Linked DNA regions of Homo sapiens: region 1 is linked to region 2. The links are contacts of gene promoters, found by promoter capture Hi-C in blood cells and fetal thymus (Javierre and others, 2016). All regions are on one chromosome and are shown on one strand. Each heading gives the region's core, a stretch centred on a gene start or on the middle of the fragment in contact. The rest is flanking DNA. Distances are from core to core; before and after follow the strand shown. Region 1 holds the start of JAGN1 (jagunal vesicle mediated transporter 1). Region 2 holds the start of THUMPD3 (THUMP domain 3 tRNA guanosine methyltransferase).

Evidence for each region. The method cuts DNA at HindIII sites, captures the fragments that hold promoters and counts their contacts. A CHiCAGO score of 5 or more calls a contact.
Region 1: a contact is called between the fragment with the promoter of JAGN1 here and the fragment with the promoter of THUMPD3 in region 2, in 1 of 17 cell types (neutrophils). The highest score is 5.3, in neutrophils.

The regions. Positions count from the first base shown.
Region 1 is chr3:9,888,598-9,892,205 of GRCh38, reverse strand. JAGN1 (jagunal vesicle mediated transporter 1) reads right to left here and starts at 1,596. Exons shown (of 2, transcript NM_032492.4): 1 at 1,395-1,596. The coding sequence starts at 1,483. The HindIII fragment of the contact is 18,772 bases long and covers 1-3,608 here.
Region 2 is chr3:9,361,766-9,365,328 of GRCh38, reverse strand. It overlaps THUMPD3 (THUMP domain 3 tRNA guanosine methyltransferase), which reads right to left and starts at 2,275. Exons shown (of 10, transcript NM_001114092.2): 1 at 2,202-2,275; 2 at 9-313. The coding sequence starts at 260. It also overlaps a transcript of SRGAP3 not described here. RefSeq lists enhancers at 1,826-1,885, 1,906-1,985, 2,056-2,115, 2,336-2,545. The HindIII fragment of the contact is 4,632 bases long and covers 1,687-3,563 here.

The DNA.
Region 1 (3,608 bases), core at 347-2,846, 530 kb before region 2:
TCTCTACTAAAAATACAAAAAAATTAGCAGCACGTGGTGGCGGGCGCCTGTAGTCCCAGCTACTCGGGAGGCTGAGGCTGAGAATGGCGTGAACCCGGGAGGCGGAGCTTACAAGTGAGCTGAGATCGCGCCACTGCACTCCAGCCTGGGCGACAGACCGTGACTCCGTCTCAAAAATAAATAAATAAATTAATAATAATAATAAAGGCAGAAGGGTAGCTCAGAGCTGTGTTTAGCAAGAGGACGCTGACTGCACCATAGGATTAAAGTCTGGCGGGAGAAGGTATTGGCAGAGAGGAAACGTACTCAGGCCGCCCATACTTCTCCAGCTAGATTTTTTCATCCAAAAGAAGTACATACTTATCTTATTCTTCTAATTCTCTCACGTCCCAAACGTATCCTCCTCATATCCCTAAAGGCAATGTTTCTACTCTGGGCTGGCATGAAAACACCTGCTTAAGTTGTGAGGGCCCTTTCAGCCGGGGCCTAGAGATGTGAAACAAATGAGAGTTCAAAGAGCTTGTCATTCTTTAAAACTCTGGAGAGAGAGATGTGAAGAACATTCTGGGAGAGATCAATGGATTTAAGGAAGTAAAAATTTTAAAATTTTTATTTAAAAATATTTATTGTAGAAAATGTGGAAAGGTTGGAAAAAAAAAACAGTCATCTCTAGACTTCAAGCTCCATGAAGGCAGGGAACAGTTTTTTTTTTCTTTAATAAAATTGTTTATTGAAGGTATAACATGTATACAAAGACCACGTCTGCTTTTGCTCACTATTATAACCTAGTGTCTAGCAGTGTATGATGTTTGGAAGCTCAGTATTTGTCGAACTAGTAATTGAATGTAGAAATACCCCTTACGTGGGAGTGTTTATAAAATTCATTTTAGGCAAGGCGTCCTTAGGAAAGGCTGCCTTTTACTGTCTATATCCCCCCAAACGGCCCAAAATATAACACCTACCATATATTACGTGGTAGGCCTTATGCTACTTTCTTTACACGAATTACTGATTAATCTTTCACCAAAACCTAAAAGGCAGATTATTCTCTCCCTCTACAGATGAGGAAGCTGAGGCTCAAATTAGAAATTCGGTTTCGAAGGTGATACAGCGGGGCCAGCATCGACGTGACTCGGGAGCCCACGCAGGGCGGGAGCCCACGCGGGGCTGGATCCCCTCAAGGCACCGGGCGGAACAAGGGGTGGAGCTCGCGGGGGCCACGGGGCTTTCCAGGATGGGGGACAGGCCCGAAGCCGTCACGGGAGGAGGGGACTTGGCAGGTGAGCGGGGGCTGGCTGGGGAGCAAGACCCTGAGGCCGGGCCGGCGTCGCTCCCCAAGCCCCGCAGGCTCCAGCGGGGGAGAAAGCCTCCGTGCTCCTCGCCTCACTTCATACCTCATCTGGTAGTGCATGGCGACGCGCTCCCGGTGCTGAAAGTCGCTGCCGTCGGTGCCGGCCGCTCGCGGGCCTGCTCGAGACGCCATTGTGCCTGCCCAGAACCCCCGAACCCCTCACGCGGACCTGGTACCGCAACGACACCGCCAAGCGGCCCACTGACCCTATTTGCGCCCCCGCAGCCGCGCGGCTCCGTGAAGAGAACTTCCGGCCCCTCTGTCTCTGGAGGACCGACTCTATGGTCACTCCTCTCCGCGCAGGCGCCCTCGTTCCCTCTCGCCCCCGCCCCGCCCAGCCCCGCCTCTTGTGGAGCGCGCAGGAAATTAATCCCCAGCCTCTTTTGCTGGCGCCCAGAGGCCGCTTGAACACTTTTACTTTCTTAAGCTGTAATATCAGTTAGGATACTTCTGTCCACACTTTACAGAGGGGGAAACTGATATATTCTATGACTTTCCCTGGAGCACACATCATTCACACAGCCTCACACCTTTAATCCCAGCACTTTGGGAGGCCGAGGTGGGTGGATCACTTGATGTCAGGAGTTCAAGACCAGCCTGGGCAACATGGTGAAATCCCGTCTCTACTAAAAATACAAAAATTAGCCAGGTGTGGTGGGTTCCTGTGACCCCAGCTACTTGGGTGGCTGAGGCAGGAGAATCGCTTGAACCAGGGAGGCAGAGGTTGCAGTAAGTCGAGATTGTGCCAATGCACTCCAGCCTGGGGGACAGAGTGCAGAGTGAGACTTTGTCTCAAAATAAGTTTCTCACATTTAATTATTGCAAAGAGAAACAGGGAATCTCTCAGTGAGGAAATCTGGCTTGTCTCCCTTAAACATATAGTCAGTTAATTTGATCAATAATGAGATAAACTGATATCTTGTGCCTCTTTTAATAGACTGAGGACACAGCATCACTTCTATGATGTTTCTGCCAAAAATACCTAACTGAATCTAATCATGAAGAAATGACATAAATCCAGACGGAGGGACAGTCTAGAAGAGAGCTGGACTGTACTCTTCAAAAATGTCAAGGCCATGAAAGAAAAATTATTTCCAAATAAACTTTATCTGTAGAGACAAAGTAGAATGACCATTGCCAGAAGCTCGAGGGGTGGACAGAGAATGGGGAGCTAGTGTTTAATGGGTACAGAGCTTCAGTTCGGGAAGATGAAAAAAGTTCTGGAGATGGATGGTGGTACTGATTGCACAACTATATGTGTGTGCTTAATGCCACGGAAACTGTACACTTAAAAATGATTAACATAGTAAGTTTTATGTTATGTGCATTTTACCACAACAAAATACTAAGCGAAACTTTAAAGAAAGAAGTTATATTATCCGAATAAAGAAAAAAAGAAAGAAAAAAGCATGTATAGTGAGCATCTTCCATGCACCAGGATGCTCTGCTATGACCTGGGGACGCAGAAATAAACATGGTCCATTTCCCCTGAGGGATCCCAGCCCAGTCGGGGGAAGAACTTGTACCCATGAAGCTAAGAAATTCAAGAAAACACAGGAGGCTGAGGGAGGAAAAATGAGGCCTCTCTCCCTGACCTGGAGGGTTAGGAAAGTCTCTCTGGAGTGGCAGCAATTGAGCTGAGGTCTGAAGCCTGAGTGGGAATTGGCTAAAGAGGTGGGGAGCGGAAGAGCTTTTCAGGCAGAGGGAACAGCATGTGTGAAGGCCCCAAATCCAGAGAGCACTTGGCTCTTCAAAGAACTGAGAAACTTAAGAGTGACTGGAGCATTTGGAGGGTTCAGTAAAGAGTTAAGTCTTTATCCCAGGGGGTTTGGGGAACCACTAAAAGGTTTAACCAGGAAAATGACACAGTTTTGCATTTTTAAAAGATAGGTCTAGGTGGGGGCACAGTGCCTCAAGCCTGTAATCTCAGCACTTTGGGAGGCCAAGGCAGGAGATCAGCCTGGGCAACATAGTGAGACTCCCGTCTCTACAAAAATAAAAAATAAAATAATATTAACTGGCATGGTGGTGCGTGCCTGTAGTCCAGGCTACTCGGGAGGATGAGGTGGGAGAATCATTTGAGACCAGGAGTTCAAGGTTACAGTGAGCCATGATTATGCCACTGCATTCCATTCTGGGCAACAGAGTAAGACACTGTCTGTAAATAAATAAATAAAGATAGATCTAGTTGCTGTGTAGAGAATGGCTTGCAGGGGCCAAGGGTGAAGCAGAGGAATCACTTGAAGGCTACTGCAGT
Region 2 (3,563 bases), core at 1,026-3,525:
ATTCAAACCTGTGCCAGACTTTCCACTGAAATGACAAAATATATCTTGCCACGGTCTCTGCTGATTTTGCATGATGACCCAAGTTTCTCTCTGACTTCATCTGCAGCTGTTTGCTCAAAGCCAGTAGGTACAGTGGCTCCAATAGTGACTAGAAGCTCAGATTCACTTCCGAGGTCACTTTCTGTCACTTGTACAGACTTCTGGTTCTCATGAAGGTTCACATCTAGGAGTTGGTTAGTGGCTTCTTCAATGTCACACATGTTGGCTGTGCTTCCAAGATCCCTAACACTGTCTCTTTAAAAGCAGTACTGTCCTTTAAAAGAAAAAGAAATAAAGCCCAAATATTATCATCTCATATTTCAGTTATAATTAAAAACATGGGCTCTGGAGGGCAGGAAGAACAAGGCAACACATCTGATAAACAGTCACCAAAGTAAAAAGGGTTGAATAAACATGGGCACAGAGTGCAGGCTGTAAAACATGATGTTATTATTAAAGAAGCAATACAGATACCATGGGAGAAAAAGAGACAAGAAGTATTTCCATAGCATGCAATGTTTGCTTTGGGGTAACCCATGTTGACAAAAGCCATTTCATAACTACGACAGAAACTGCAGATCACATTCAAATCCATTTCTGCATCTAGATGTTAAGAACATGGTTAGTTAAGAATATAGGGCTTGGCTGGGCGTGGTGGCTCACACCTGTAATCCCAGCACTTTGGGAGGCCGAGGCGGGCAGATTGCCTGAGGTCAGGAGTTCAAGACCAGCCTGGCCCACATGGTGAAACCCCGTCTCTACTAAAAATACAAACATTAGCCAGGTGTGGTGGTGGGAGCCTGTAATCCCAGCTACTTGGGAGGCTGAGGGAGGAGAATTGCTTGAATCCGGGAGGTGGAGATTGCAGTGAGCTGAGATCATGCCACTGCACTCCGGCTGGGGTAACAGAACAAGACTCTGTCTCAAAAAAATAAATAAATAAATAAAATAAATAATAATAATAATAATAATATGGGGCTTTTGGAGTTTCAGATAGATACAGGTTTGAATTCTTGCCTCCACCATCATAGGTTGAATGACTTATGGCAAATTAATTCTCCCAAACCTTCAAATGTAATTAAGTAATTAGTAATACCTCTTTCCTAGAGTCGTTAGGAGACAAGTGAGAGTAGTACCTGGTTAGGCCAATAATTAAAACTTATTAATAGGCTATCTATCTTCTTCCCTCCTGTGAAATAGCATTTCATGCATTTAAAAATGATTAACTGGGCTGGGCACACTGGCTCATGCCTGTAATCCCAGCACTTTAGGGAGCTGAGGTGAGTAGATTGCTTGAGGCCAAGAGTTCGAGACCAATCTGCGTAAGATGGCAAAATCTCATCTCTACCAAAAACACAAAAAATAGCTGGGCGTGGTGGTGGGCGCCTGGAGTCCAGCTACTTGGGAGGCTGAGGTGGGAGGACTGCACTCCAGCCTGGGTGACACAGTGAGGCCCTGTCTCAAAAAAAAAAAAAAAAAAAAAGAAAAAATTAAAAATAAAAATGGTTAACTGAATACTTACTATCTAATGATTACAAATGTTCAAACGCCTACTACTTGCCAGACTCTGGGATCCATAGATGGGCATCAGGAGAGAGATCTTGGAAGTAATCCGAAATAGTAAAACAAATTTCCTATGCATAAGCTTTTGTGTGTGCTTGGGGTGGGGGCCGGGGGAAGTATTAGAGAGGTGGAGGGGCCATAGCTTACACGAGATTTTCAAAAGGTCTGTGACTCAAAATAACTTAATTGAGTACAGAATACCTATAATGTCCTTGTGCTGTGCCAGCGATACACGACAGTGTTTAACACTACGTCAGTTCCCGCCGTTAAAAAGCTGACAGTCACTGTGAATACAATCTCCATCTTCTAAAAAATGCAGCTGAGGTCAGCTAAAGGACGCGTTCCGCACAAGGTCAGAGAGCCAATGAGAGGCGCAGAATGAAAGAGAACTCACGTCTCCCAACTCCCACCTACAGGGCCCGGGAATCCTAGGGAGCGGGTAAAGGCCTGGGAGAGGGAGCAAGATGGGCTCCGCCACGAGATCCGCCTGAAGTCCGGCTCGGCGCCGGCCTCAACTGCAAGAGGAAGGCCACCCCTCTCTCCCCAAGCTGAAACACCAGAAGAGCCACACTCGGCCGTTCCCAACCGCCGCCAGTTACCGGCCGCCAGCGAAGACCCTTTCAGCTCCCACACTCCATTGGCCTCTTGCGGTCAGGTCACGCCGCCGGAAGCCGCCCCCGGAAACGGAAGTCAGGCTACGAGTCACGGTGGCTCCGCGCTGGCGGCGGGTTCCCCCACAAGGTCTTGGGGAAAGGAGCATGCGCTGGAAGCTGTGTGCTGTTGGTTTTGAGGATCTTCAGTAAGCTGAAAGCGGAGAGTCAGGGGCCTTGTGTCCTACCATGGTATTTGCTAACGTTTAGAGAGTGCTTCCCCTTGCCGAGCACTGGGTAAGCGCTTCACATGCGTCATCTCATTTGGAACAAGTCTCTTTTGTTCTAGCACCTATGAAGTGGCAGAGACTGATTTCTGTTTTAAAGCTGGAGACACCGAGTCTCTCCAGCTTATTTAAATATCTTTCTCAAAATGTCATGCCACTAGTTCCTGATTTCTGTATTGCCATCACTATTTTAGCACTGTTTACTTCATATTTTTCTTTAGTTTAAAAAAAATAGAAATAGTGGGGCTCACTATGTTGCCTAAGCTGGTCTCGAACATCTGGGTTCAAGTGATTCTTCTGTCTAGCCCTCCTAAAGTGCTGGGATTACAGGCATGAGCCACTGTGCCCAATCAGATGAACTTTATTTCTCATAAAGGGTTGAACCTGGCCGGGCACAGTGGCTCATGCCTGTAATCCCAGCACTTTGGGAGGCTGAGGCGGGTGGATCACTTGAGGTCAGGAGTTTGAGGCCAGGCTGGCCAACATGGTGAAACTCCATCTCTACTAAAAATACAAAAGTTAGCTGGATGTGGTGGCCTGCACCTGTAGTCCTAGCTACTTGGGAAGATGAAGCAGAAGAGTTGCTTACCCAGGAGGCAGAGGTTGCAGAGAGCCAAGATTGTGCCACTGCACTCCAGTCTGGGAGCAAGACATCATCTCAAAAAAAAAAAAAAAAAAAAAAAAAAAGAGTTGAACCTGCATGGTAGCCATTTTGACAGACTGGGAAGCCTAGCTTCCAGTCAGAAGCCAAAAACAGGCACTTCCAGGGTTGGAAGAATAAGACAGGGATTTATGCTAAACACAGTGGCCAAATATACATGTTAAATAAACTGTAAGAGGGGTCACGAATATTTATGAAAGGAGCAATTTGTGCATGTGCAGTTGAGCTTCATGCCTCTCTGTGGATCCCATGTTTAAAAAATGGTGGCCTTAGCATGATCCAAGGGTAGAGTTTTCTACCGCTTGACTTCAAAAGGTGAAGCAGGGGATGTGAAAACCCTCACTGCACGTCCTCTGTCGACTGGCCAGAACCACTCCCTGGATGGTGGGTGATCTCTTATCAGGAAGGAATGCTAGTCGGTTG